4 separate regions of the Homo sapiens genome follow, and all the other regions are linked to region 1. The links are contacts of gene promoters, found by promoter capture Hi-C in blood cells and fetal thymus (Javierre and others, 2016). All regions are on one chromosome and are shown on one strand. Each heading gives the region's core, a stretch centred on a gene start or on the middle of the fragment in contact. The rest is flanking DNA. Distances are from core to core; before and after follow the strand shown.

The links. The method cuts DNA at HindIII sites, captures the fragments that hold promoters and counts their contacts. A CHiCAGO score of 5 or more calls a contact.
Region 2: a contact is called between a fragment that was not itself captured here and the fragment with the promoter of CCDC82 in region 1, in 17 of 17 cell types (naive CD4 T cells, naive CD8 T cells, naive B cells and 14 more). The highest score is 21.3, in naive CD4 T cells.
Region 3: a contact is called between a fragment that was not itself captured here and the fragment with the promoter of CCDC82 in region 1, in 17 of 17 cell types (naive CD4 T cells, endothelial precursors, total CD8 T cells and 14 more). The highest score is 33.9, in naive CD4 T cells.
Region 4: a fragment that was not itself captured here is called in contact with the fragment with the promoter of CCDC82 in region 1 in 14 of 17 cell types (total CD4 T cells, M2 macrophages, endothelial precursors and 11 more); the score reaches 8.8 in total CD4 T cells.

The regions. Positions count from the first base shown.
Region 1 is chr11:96,388,662-96,391,999 of GRCh38, reverse strand. It overlaps CCDC82 (coiled-coil domain containing 82), which reads left to right and starts at 2,088. Exons shown (of 10, transcript NM_024725.4): 1 at 2,088-2,156. It overlaps JRKL (JRK like), which reads right to left and starts at 1,987. Exons shown (of 2, transcript NM_001261833.2): 1 at 1,927-1,987; 2 at 1-1,517. The coding sequence starts at 1,350. RefSeq lists a silencer at 1,915-2,174. The HindIII fragment of the contact is 1,223 bases long and covers 1,308-2,530 here.
Region 2 is chr11:95,826,419-95,829,756 of GRCh38, reverse strand. CEP57 (centrosomal protein 57) reads right to left here. Exons shown (of 11, transcript NM_014679.5): 9 at 1,730-1,971; 10 at 426-570. Among named protein-coding and RNA genes, the nearest start is that of CEP57, 38 kb to the right of the region's middle. The HindIII fragment of the contact is 517 bases long and covers 1,384-1,900 here.
Region 3 is chr11:95,843,096-95,846,433 of GRCh38, reverse strand. It overlaps MTMR2 (myotubularin related protein 2), which reads left to right. Exons shown (of 15, transcript NM_016156.6): 11 at 1,275-1,481. Among named protein-coding and RNA genes, the nearest start is that of CEP57, 54 kb to the right of the region's middle. The HindIII fragment of the contact is 2,224 bases long and covers 426-2,649 here.
Region 4 is chr11:95,863,935-95,867,272 of GRCh38, reverse strand. It overlaps MTMR2 (myotubularin related protein 2), which reads left to right. Exons shown (of 15, transcript NM_016156.6): 3 at 1,597-1,672. Among named protein-coding and RNA genes, the nearest start is that of MTMR2, 59 kb to the left of the region's middle. The HindIII fragment of the contact is 3,847 bases long and covers 1-3,338 here.

The DNA.
Region 1 (3,338 bases), core at 839-3,338:
GATGATTTCGCTATCAGTTAACACTTCATAGCCTGGTTCAGTACTGTCTACTTCAAGCCATTTTTCAAGGTTCTCAGTAGTCACATTTTCCAATCCTTTGGTGTGTTGTAAAATGGCAGCCACAGTAGCCACAGAAATATCTTCAACATCAAAGTCCAGGCTCTCTTTCTCCTCTACCATAGGGAGAATCTTCTTCCATGCTCTGCTAATGGTAACTGGTTTTACTAAGTTCCATGCCATTGCTATTTCATAAAGTGCATCCAACAGAGTTAGCTTCTTCCAGAATGATTTCAGGTCATTACCTTCTTCCAAGTTGTTCTGGAGAAGACCTGCACGATAATTTCTCTTCATCGTTGCTATGACTCCCTGATCTGAAGGCTGAATCAATGAGGCCACATTAGGTGGTAAATATTTAGCAAATATTTGGCCATCATCTGACCTTAGGACATTTTCATTTGGATGTGTTGGTGAATTATCCAACAAGAGCACAGCCTTTTCCTGCAAGCCTTTAGATCTTAAATACTCTCGAACTTGCGGCACAAAAATTTTATCAAACCATTGTCGGAAAATGGAAAGATCCATCCATGCACCTTTTTGGCTGAAATAAGAGACTGGCAGGTTTAAGGTGTCAGTTGATTTAAAGGAGCGAGGTTTCTTTGCTTTCCCCACAACACAAAGTTTAAGTTTGTGTAAACCTGTTGCATTGGCACAACACATGATTGTGACTCTTTCTTCAATTGATTTGTGCCCAGGGACAGTGCATTTACCTTTGATTACTGAAATCCTAGAAGGCAAGCACTTCCAAAAGAGTCCAGTTTCATCTGCATTGTAGATTTGTTCAGGCTGTAAATTCTCTCGTTCAATAAAATCTCGAAAGTTATTACAAAAATCTTCCACCGCAGTCTCATCTCCATTTAATCTTTCATTTCTAATGTTAATCTCTCTAATGCTGTGCCGCTGCTTAAAACGAGTTAGCCAACCGGCAGAGGGGTTAAAATCACCATCCATTCCCAAAGCATAAAAGAAGAACTCTGCCCTTTTTGCACAAATTGGTCCAGATATGGGATTCCCTTTTGCTCTTTGCTGGTTGAACCATTCCAGCATTGCCCTGTCCAATTCCTCATACATGGATGGCTTCATAGATTTCCTCTTGGCCAAAAGACTTGTGGAATCAGAACTGCTTGCATAAGTTATAATCTTTTCCTTATTTTTTCTTATATCCCGAACTGTTGTTTCACCAATTCCATAAATCACTGCCAGTTGTTTGGAAGAACCTCCGTCTTCAAGTTTCTTTATTATATCAAGCTTATCTTTAATAGTCAACACCACACGCTTCCGTTTCCCTGACATAGCGAGGTTCTGGGACTCACCCCACACTCACAATGTAGCAATCCACAAAATCCTTCCTTCTCTTACACAGGCTCACTTCAACAGTCTTAACACACTCAGTCTTTCATCCTTACCAGCAACCTGGTGGCCCTGATCCCCTCCCGGGCTGGGGTTGGCTGGCAAATAGACTGCAGAAGAAGGTGAAAGAGGAGGAAGTTTGAGAGAACAGGCCTTTCTTTAACTTATACGGGCAGTAGCGGAGGCCCCATGTCACCGCGGATAATCCGGATTAAAAGCATGTGTTTTATTACCCCAGCAGCCGTGAGAAAGACTATACCCCCATTGTGGCCACGAACCTCCTGCACGTCCAGATCCCGGGTAACCGCGCGTCACTAACCCCTGCCACACCCCAAAGTTACGACAGAGAGCCGAAGAGCCTAGGAGTCAAGGACTGGCACCCTTCCTCAGGGGAACGGATATATTAGATTCCTTCCCCAGCAGCAGGGCCCTCCCGCCGCGCAGCCCCAGTTTCCCGCGCCAGCTTTAGCCGGGACAGTCCTCCCAGTCCCTCAAAACCCGCCAGGCCCCTCTCCCCACCTCTCTTGCAACCAGGACCCGCACAGCTCCCTGACTATCGCGCGGCAGTCGCTCCGCCCCTAGCCACGCTCCCGGAAGATGATCCCTCCCGCCGCCTGGCCCCACCCCTCGCCCCACCCAGAGGCGGGACTTCCCTTGGTCCCCGGAAGGGGGGGAGGAGCATCGCTTGTCCTGAGCTGGTTGCCGGGGCAGGGGCGGAGGCGGAGGCAGAGGTGGAGGCGCTTTGAAAGGTGAGAGCGCGAGGGCGGTGCGGGGCTGTCTCCCGGCTGGGACTCGCTCGCGCTCCCGGTGCTAATGGTTTATGAGAGGGGCGGGGGAAGCCGTGCCTCCTCGCGGACTAAGAGAAAAATTCCCGCGGGCGCTCTTTGGGTGGGCCGGAGAACGCCCCTCAGCCCTTTGCGCCTCTAACCCTCCTCAGCTGAGCTGCAGTGGGCGCGGTGCCCGTTATTTCCGCCTTGGGGAGGTGCTTGGAACTGATGTAGGGAGCTCGGTTGGTGATTTCTCGGGTTTCTGGCCTTTCCAGACCCTTGTAATTGTTTTCTCGGTGCAGAGCTCTTTTGGGGTCTGGGGGTTTCCGTCGTCCTGCGCGCGTCATCGCGAAGCTTGGCCTGAGGGTCCGGTTTCCTAGCTACTGTGCCCCTCCCTCCTGGAGGCAGAGTGACGGACTAGTGGGCTAGCGGGCGCTGGGTTCCTGCGTCCCGCCAAAGAGGTTTGTAATCATGAAAGTCACCCTTCCGGGTGTTAATTCCTGAGAGGATCTATTCCACTGTCTACCACTCATTCCTGCTGCATTAACCTTCATTGTTAACGGATTTTAATGAATAATATAGTTATCCCGGATACCATGCTGGCAGGATCCACTTTGCGAAATTGTGGACTGTTGGACTGTGATTCTAAGTGGGGGAAATAGGCTTTCCTCTCTTTATGTTTATTTTCTTATATCCTATTTCTGTCATGTTCTGTCTTGTTTTCCTGCCAATAGAAGAACTATGATAAATTTATTCATAGCAGTGTGATAAGAACTTGATCTTAATCATACACTGTAGCCCTCAAATCGTGTATTATGCTGGCTTGTTTTTGGTGTCCCTAGTAATTTCATCAGATTGTGAGCTCCTTGGGAGCAGAGACCATGTTTATTTGAAATGGTGGCAGCACAGTTCCTAGCAGGTGCTTGCATTTTGGTAGATATTCAATAATTATTTTTCGGCTTATTAATCTTTGCTCTCCAAACTGCCATATAAAAGAAAACATCGAAGAGGAGTGATGTTTTACACCCAAGAATGGATCCCTCCTGGTAGAATTTCAAATAATGACCTGGGGTTCCACTGCCTTTCAAATCTGTAAAGTGTTAACTACCACCTGCATTGTTTATACAGCAAGTAGGTGATTTCTAGAATGAATCTTTTCTTGAG
Region 2 (3,338 bases), core at 393-2,892, 560 kb after region 1:
TGTCACCACTGCATCTGGTAGTACTACATTGTTGGCTGATATAAAATGATTAGCAACATAAATATATTTCACATATTTAATGTATGACTTATTCCTTTGGAAACAGAATTTCGCAGGTGCTTTTAAAAAAACTTACTTGGATAAACTCCAATTTAAATTCATCAAAGAAGTTAAAGCTTATTCATAAAGAATATTAAATATATTCAGTATTTGAAAGATGTTTCTTAGATGAATATGCTAAGTGACTAAAAGTGTCTTCTTTCTTAATCCACTTACCAATTCTCAATGAACAAATGTCTTCAGTAAAGAAGTATCTCCTGTAGATATTTATCTATGATACACTTAGTGTCATCATTTAATATTTGAATTAAAGTGTTTTTTTTTTCTTAATCATTAGAAACTTGAGTGAAGGAAAACTGAGTTACCTGGGCTTGGTATTTTCGAACTTTAGTTATTTGGTTGGCTTTTGCTTCCATCCTTCCCACTAATGCCTCCAATTCACACTCCAACTTGTCTTTCAGTTCAACGGTTGGCGACTCCTGGATAAGTTTTGCAAGCTGCTGGTGATCACTATATACAAAGCAGAAGTAGAACATGGTTAAGTTTTCTGTGTTTCATGGTTAGGTCTATTATACCTCATTATGGGTTACTGCTCCATGTGTTTAAAAAATGACTCCATTTTTTGAACAGAGCAATAAATTTTTTTTTTTTTTTTGAGACGGAGTCTTGCTCTGTCGCCCAGGCTGGAGTGCAGTGACATGATCTCGGCTCACAGCAAGCTCTGCCTCCCGGGTTCACGCCATTCTCCTGCCTCAGCCTCCCGAGTAGCTGGGACTACAGGCGCCTGCCACCATGCCTGGCCAATTTTTTGTATTTTTAGTACAGACAGGTTTTCACCCTGTTAGCCAGGATGTGATATGCCCACTTCAGCCTCCCAAAGTGCTGGGATTACAGGTGTGAGCCACCATGCCTAGCCTAGATCAAGAAATTTTTAATTAAAAATATGAATTTAAAAGTTCAAGAAAGGCACTAGAGGGAAATGCAAGAGTTCTTAATTTCAAGGTTAATTCTTTATATTCTTATTTTCCCCAAAAGAGTATTGTATATGTAAAGTCTACAGATGAATCTTGCTCTTCAAACACTCATGTCTTATCAGTTAAGTTTAGCTAAAATGAATGTGATGTCAGGTGCCAGATGATGATGTAGTAAACAACAGACCACATATACAACAGTGGTCCCGTAAGACTTTAGTATCATATTTTTACTCTACCTAGATGTTTATATACACAAATACTTACCATTGTGTTACAACTGCATATAGTATTTAGTAGTAGAGTAACATGCTGTATAGGTTTGTAGCCTAGGAGCAATAAGCTATAAGCTTAGCACACTCTTATGTTAGCACAAGGAAAAGAAAATCGCCTAATGATGTATTTCTCAGAGCACATCTTTGTCATTCAGTGATGCATGACTGTATATCATAAGTTCTCAAAGAAATAAAACTTAAATATAAACCTTGGTCTTCAAAACATTTAACAGTATTTAAAAAGAGAGAGATTTTACCCTTATTAGTTGTATTTGTTAAAGTCCCAGTAACTTGGTTGGTATAAGGATTGTGCTCAACCATACTTGCTCAACAAAGGAAAGTAAGATTTAATAAAGTCAACAAGTTTTTAAAAAATGAGGTTTTAGAGCTAAACTGAATTTAAAAAAAAAAACAAAAACTCACAAGCTCATTTGCCCAAATTCATCCTGTAAAGTCTGTAAGACTTCTGACAACTCCTCATTAATACCGTTGGAGGAGGGAGGTGTTACTGACAACTTCTTACTTTTACCACCTCGTGAAGATACTTGCTTTGCCAAAGGAATACTGTTGATGACTCGATCATTGCACAAAGCTTTACTGTGTTGCTTCATTAGATGCAAGACAAGCTGAACATTGGCTACCACGGCATGGCTAGGGCTTGTGGACTAAAGGAAGAAAAATGATGAAAGAAGTAATTGAAGTTATATTCTCTACACCACTTTCTATTCCCTAAGCCTAGGTAAAAAGAACTCTCCACCCCCTAAAGTAGAGTATATAAATCCTAAAATTATTCTCATCATGATGTTCTTCTATTTGAAATCCTTTGATATAAATCCACTAACTATGTTTCAGAATGGAAAATAAGGCCCTACATACACATCATTGAGCTGCAACCTACATTTCCTAGCCTCATGTCCTATCATCCTCCCCTTCTCTCCATTTTGTGAACAAACCATATTTGCAGATGACATTTTTTTGGTGTATTAGCAACATTTATATCATTCTTTAAAACCCAGTTCAAATATATTATTTTTAAAGGCTTCCTTAAAACTGCCAGGTAATCAATCAGTCCATTATCAGATCACCTATAACACTTTTTACATCTCTCTCATAGCATTTATCATATTTTAATTGCTTTTACATATCTATTTCACCTATTAAACAGTGTACATCCAGGTGGTAGACACTATTGTTCATTTCTGTATCCTGGAATAATAGGAAGCACTAAATTACATGTCTATCACGTGTGTAAGAAAAACCTGATAGACTTCTCAAAGATATTTTGCTTTTGTTTTAAACACTAAACCAACAATCTCAATGTACTATTCCACTTTATAAATAGATGGCTGGGCTTACTTGGCTCCATAAATATTATTAGAAAGCATATTTAAAATGCAGGTTCCTAGGCAGCACACCAAACTCACTGCAGAGTTAGGGTTTGGAAATTTGTGTTTTCAAGTCCTCCAGTTGATTTTGATTAGCCAGATTTGGAACCACCATGCTAAGCTAAACATATGCTTTCCTTCTAATCTTAGTTTCTATTGTTAGCTAGCAAAGTGAATGCAGCAGTATTATATATCACATCCAAGTGGGAGTTTATTACATCAATGCAAGGCTGGTCCACTATTCAAAAATCAATCGATGTAACCACTATTTTGCTCGTAACTTGTAATATATATTTAGCATACTAATTGCCTATGAGTACACTTTCAATATGCAATAATTTAAAAAATTCTCGTTCTGTTATTTTTCTGATTATATTAATATGCACTTGACCCTTGAACAATGGAGGGGTTAGGGGCACCGACCACCCATGTAGTCAAAACTCTGCCATAATGAAATTTTTTTTTCCTTCAACTTTTAAGTTCTGGCGTACATGCGCAGGTTTGTTATATAGGTAAATGTGTGTCATGGTGGTTTGCTGCACAGATCAACCCATCACCTAGGTATTAACCCCAGCATCCATTAGGTACTCTTCCTGATGCTCTCCCTCCCCGTTGACCAACTCCCCCACCAAACAGGCTCCAGTGTA
Region 3 (3,338 bases), core at 288-2,787, 550 kb after region 1:
ATCTGGTATACTGTATATTTCCTTGTTTATTTGTGACTGGTGGGCCTCACCCAAATAGAATGTAAACTTCAGTAAGCAGGAACTTTGTTCCCTGCTGTATGGCCCGTGCCTAGAGCAGTATCTACCTTCTAGTAAGGGACTCCATAAATGTTTATTTAATGAATGAATGAACAATTACTACTTTGGATAACTCTTCCTGATCAATCTTAACTAAGCCTTTGGGTTAGTGATTCTTAACTTCGTATATGCACTAGAATTATAGGTGGAATTTATTTAAGATACTGAATTAGGATCATTGGACAATGAGGTCTAGGCACTTCAGGCTTACAAATGACTCTTGATATATAGTCAAGATCGTCATAGTACCCCATTTCCAGAATATGCTTATAGCTGTGATCAAGGGGAGGTTATCATACTTCCAAGCTTAATAATCTGTTTTCTTTCATTCTCATCTGCGTATGTAGAACTATACTGTTTTTCAAGTATAATACAATATGGCCATTGCAGAGAAGAATAGGGCTGTATTGTCCTTTTTTTTTTTTTTTTTTTTTAAGATACCATACTTTTGTGTTTCTTTTTTGGTTATATCTAATTATGTTTAGTTTTAACTCAAGATTGACTTCAGAAAAGGTAAGTTATTTTGCAAAGGATTTCTGCATATTTAAAAAAATAAGAGCTGAAGTTATTTTAAGTAACAGATTGACATATTCTGTGAATTTTCATGCAGTGTTACAGAAAAGTAGCTCACTCTAAAGTTTATACTGTGCTTGCTGTATGCTCTGTGACATAAAAATCTTTAGTCAAAACAATACAATAACTGCTATAGAGTATTTTAAAGAGATCCAGTATTATTGCTTTCAGGTGCTTATCCCAATTTGGTTTAAGCATTGTTTTAAATCATAACAAGGCTTCAATTGCTATATCAATTATTTTTATTTAAATAGATGATGGAATATTTGATTCTTAGAAACAGATCTCTTTAGAACTTTTCTAAGAAGAATCTTACACCATGATTTATGTAGCACCCAAAGGTACTTTTGATTTGGCTATTTCGTTGGGCAAATTAATAGGAGTCAGCAATTATGAGGTTTTTCTAGTTTTAAAAGCAAAATTTATATATCTTCTACCATTTAAAAAAATTCTTCTTAGGAAGGGACAAATGTTTTTCCTCATGTTATTGAAATAATGATCCCTGATAAGCTGTATTAGTAAATTTTGAAGAAGGAAGTATTTACCTTGTTTAAAAACAATGTATTAAAAAATCTGTTTTCCAGCTTATTCTTGCAGGGGCTCTTAGGATTGCTGACAAGGTAGAGTCAGGGAAGACGTCTGTGGTAGTGCATTGCAGTGATGGTTGGGATCGCACAGCTCAGCTCACTTCCCTTGCCATGCTCATGTTGGATGGATACTATCGAACCATCCGAGGATTTGAAGTCCTTGTGGAGAAAGAATGGCTAAGTTTTGGACATCGATTTCAACTAGTAAGTAAGGAACCTTGACTTTGGATATATCACATGCATTCATGCCAAGGCATGTGAAAAAAATGTGTTTTTTAAAATAAGATATTCATCTGAAATTGATCATTTATCTAGTGGGGTAAACGTTTTTGCTTGTTTTGGAAAGCATTAAGATATCCCTAACATGACTAGTCTGGAGTCAGAGCTAGCTATTTGTCAAGTGTCTGACCCAGTCTTTTCTGTGATCTCCACTGGGAAACATCGGATATCATTCAGTGATGTCCACGGGTGTTTCTGGGCAGGCGTTTTCCTAAATAATTGAAAAACTTTTAGAAGGGTCTTTACCCAGATGCTGTCTGTAATGTTTACCTTTAGTATCCAGTAGTTACCAGAGTATACTAGCAGTGTTTATACAGTTGTCCCTTGGTATATGTGGGGGCTTGGTTCCCAGATCCCATGAACAGGCCAAAATCCACACATATTCAAGTTCTGAAGCTGGCCCTGCTGGGACCATGTAAAGTTGGCCCTCTGTGTATGTGGGTTCCGCATCCTGCATTTGGCTGAAACAAATCTGCATATAAGTGGACCTGTGCAGTTCTAACCGTGTTGTTCAAGGGTTAACTGTAACATGAAAGGAACAGACATTTAAAGTTAGTCTGCTCTTTTGAACTTGAACTGTTAAATAAAATTGGGTACCTGGAGTGTTTATTCAGATGGCTCACATTTTGCCGTTCTCTACACAATGTACTTATCATGAAACGGCCATTTAAAACAAACTCGTACTTCAAAGAATCAAGTTTTAGTCAGCCAAAGCTGCACATGTTTATATAAATGTGTTCAAAATCAAACATTTTGGGGTGTTCGAAGTTGCTATGGATTCCTAAATTGCTAACTCTGGTTACCTACTCCCCCCGTTCTTTTTACCTAGTTATATTCTGAAAATAGAATCTTGACAATTAAAGGGCACCCAGTCAAGAGGATTTGCTCACAAGGTTAATGTAGAGTAATGATTCTCAAACTTTTTGGTTTCAGGACCCCCTTTACATTGTTAACAATTATGGATAGAACTTTTTTTTCCTAACTCCCCAAACTTGTTACCCAGAGAACTTTATGTGAGTTATATCAATATTTGCCATATTGAAAATTAAATTTGAAAAAATTTAAAAATATTTCTTAATTTAGGAAATAAGCTTATTATATATTAACAGAAATATTTAAACTAAAAAAAATATTTTCCAAAACAAAAAGTTTAATGAAAAGACTGGCATTGTTTTACTTTTGCAAATTTAATGAGTTTGGCTTAATAGAAGATAGCTGAATTTTATATCTATTTTTACCTTCAATCTGTTATGTTTTGTTGGTTTTAGTATATGAAGAATATCTAACCATATACAGATATGTAAGTGGAAAAGCAGAAAGTATTTTAATAGCTTTTTCAGGGAATTGTAGATATTCTTCTTTGATACTACGCCAGAACTTGATAAATGGTAGTTTCTTAGAGGTTAGTTGTTATATGGAATCCAAAATCAAGTTAATGAATTTTTTTTATCATTAAATTCCATTGGTCTCACTTCCATTTTGAATAGATCTTTTACCCATGTGTGGTTTTGTAACATCACATATTGGTTATTTGGAAAATACTGGCTTATTGAGTTACACAGATCTTCCAAATGTAAATGCATTTCATCATATAATACCATAAAATCACACTTGTTAATCATCACCATTGGTTTTGTCAGAAAAGCCTTCAAGTATTTTTAAGCTCATTATGGTGGGCAAAAGTTCACCAAAAATTGAGTTTTCACTCAAAAGCTTGAATTTTTTCATTGACAACAAATATTGTCAGCTGTTTTCCTTTCAGTGATAATTCACATTGTACCT
Region 4 (3,338 bases), core at 506-3,005, 520 kb after region 1:
TACATATGCAATATGGGAACTACTGCCCAGCGTTATAAGTGACATAAACGTTGTATTTCTGAGTGAGGTGGTAGACCGGGGAAAGAATAAAGCATCTTCCTTTCTATAATCTTTCACGTGGTTGATTTTTTTCGGTATACTCTGATATTTGTTTTGTTATCTTTGGGTCTAATTTTGTTGCTTTCATAATTAGTAGAATTATTAGCAGATTCTGGCAATTAGTTGTTAGTTTGAACTTTTATTAACAGTAGACAACACTTATTACATACATCTTATGTGTTAACACTGATATAAGTACTTTAAATGTATTAACCCATTTAATTTTCATAACAACCTATGTGTGGTACTATAATAGTTACCATTTTATAGATGCGGAAAATGAGGCATAGAGAAGTTGAAAACCTTGCCTAAGAGTACCAAGTTAGTATGTGGTGCAGTCAGGATGTGAACCCAAGTCTATATTTTTGTATATGGCAAGTTTTTGCCTTTTTAACCCCATCTTCATAGGCTGGTCCTCCTTTCCTCTCTTCTTTCCTTCTTCTCTTCTTTTATGACTACATAAGACTATTTAGGGACTGGCAACTAGATAGCGTGTTTAAAAGATGACCTTTAAAGACGACTTTTCTGAAGTTTAGATGTGGCACATAAAAATATGTATGTGTGTATATACTATTTCTTTAGGTATTGCATTAAAGTTACTTTATGAAACAAATTGTTAAACTTTCAAAAGAATGAATTTGTTTAGATTGCAAATTTATTGAAAATAAGTTAATTTGTTCTTTGTAGTTCTTAGTTATTGGCCGCAGGTGAGCCAGATTGCGGAAGATGGAGGAATTAATGGGATTGGAGACAGAAATTTACTGTTTGATGGTGAGAGAGGTGGGAGGAGGTGAGGAAGGCTTTTGGTAGTTAATGGGGGATATATTTAGCATATGACAATTTGGGTGTGTCTGTGTGTTCTCTGGGTTGTAACTCCTTTAGAGAACTGTTTCTGTATCCACATTCTTGGAATATAGTGTAGCATCCTTCAAAAGGTAACTACCTGGTCATATTTGTTGATCATGAATTTATTTAAACTCTTTTTCAACAAGATGATTTATCAACATCATTTCTAAATTCTCTAAACATTAAATCTACACAAGAACTTAATTTTGTCTGAGTTTAAATGTACTATGGCCCTTCAGCATGGCTTTGGAATCCATTCAACTGTAGTTCAGATCTACACACTGGCACTTTAACTATGTGATCTTGAACTAATTACCACTTTCGGCTGCTTTTTCCTCATCTGAGAAATGAGGATATAATACCTCTTTTATTGTTAGGCTGTCTTAGGATGCAGTGCAAAAACATGTACAATTTTTTGTGTAACAAATGTAGAGTGCTTTGATATGATTTAAGCACTCAGTAAATGCTTTCTAGAAAAACATTAACTTCATATATTATACATGCCAACACTACAGTTTAACAAATTTGATTTAAAATAGTGTATGTGATATGATGTTATAACTTCAAGAGCAAGTATACTCAGTTGAAATATGAGTGAAAAAGTAGCCTTTGAATAAAAAAATGTTTCTTTTTTTGTCTTTCCCACCCCAGGTCCTGAGGGAGTCTAACAAGTTAGCAGAAATGGAAGAACCACCCTTGCTTCCAGGAGAAAATATTAAAGACATGGGTCCGTAATGGTATTTTTTGCTTAATGTCCTTCTCCGTTCTACTGTGCAGAATGTTCAGTACTCTCAGCATACAGAGAATAAACTGGCTGTCAGAGACACCTCCTGTCTGGCAGAACTCTTTACCTGCAGTCTTCTCAGCATCTTAGTGTGTTCTACAAACGTAAGCCTAGACCCGCTGCTAGTGTTTGTGTTTGAACTCCTGGGAAACATGCAAATTGAATTATACTTTGCCTCTTCTCTGGTTTGTTTTACTTTCTTTAAAAGTAGGTGGATTTTTGCTAAAACTGTTGCTGAAGCCTGTGAAGGAAAATTTTATTATTTTGAATTACTATATTCAGATATTGAGTTGCCTAGATAAAAACATTGAATTGTCACCTTATACAAGTAATTTTTCTTAAAATATCTTCTCTTCTGTTTGCTTCCTTCATGTCTTTCTTCTCTGAATAAAGTCAGGTTAATTTTTGGATGAAATACATCATCTCCATTGCATCTGTTTGTATGTAGATGCCCTTCTCTGCCCAGCCTAATACTTATAATATGGACTGGAAACTGAAAATGAGCTTACAAGCTGTGTTTTTTTTCCTCATGCTTTTGTTTTGTTTCATCTGTGTGATAATCTACAGATATCTACTCATAAACTCTGAGAAATAAAGTAATATGTTAGAAGAATGAAGTAAATGATTTCTTAGTTAATATAACTACCATGTTTCATTTTGTTACCAATCATAATTTTTAAAAAGGATTTTAAAAATGCTGAATTTTACTTGGCTAGGTGTCATTTCTATGTGTAAAAACAAGCCAAAGGCAGGACCTGTATTCTAAATGGATTATTATTTACTAAATTTAGCTTCCTAGTCCTTAGCATGCTATTTGTCTTTTCTTGCTCTTGGCTCTTGATTGAATAACCTCTCAGTCTTTTTCTTTTCCCCAGTTAGCCTTATATATACACCAAGCTCTTGATCTGAACTACCTACTTACATTTTTTCAGAATTGGCTATTATATAATGATAGTAGTTATTATTATTGAGTGCTTACTATCTCAGTCATTCTCAGAGAGTATATTCTTGAGAATAACATCAACCCCATTTTATAGGTGAGGAAGGAAACTAAGGCATAGGAAGATAACCTAGCTAATAAGGTTATATCTAGCATTGTGACAATTTCTTTTTCTTATTCTGAACTTAATGCCGTAATTGCAGCTCCCATTATGAAATATGGCTTTATTAAAGAACTTCAAGTTACCACTCAGTCTCATTTGTTGGCTCTTCTTCCTTTAATAGCAACACGCCCTAGGACTTCATCCTTGACCCATTTCCCTTTTCCCTCCTGTATACTCTTTTCGGTTGACCATATCTAAATTTGTAACATCACTTGCCATATATTGGCTGATGACTCCAAAATTTGTTATCTCCAGTGTGAACCCCTGTCCTAATGTAAGTAAACAAATGCCTCTATCTTAAACACACATCCTTGAATATCCCATAGGAACCTTATACCCAACATCTCCAAAATGGAAATCATCACGTTTAACTCCAAACTTACTCTTTTTCTTGCATTCTCTCTCTCAGTTGACATCAATACCAGCTGTCCATTTACTCAAGTCAGAAATCTGGTTGTCGTACTAGACTGCTCTTTTTTTCTTTTCTGGACTCTTAACATCCAGTC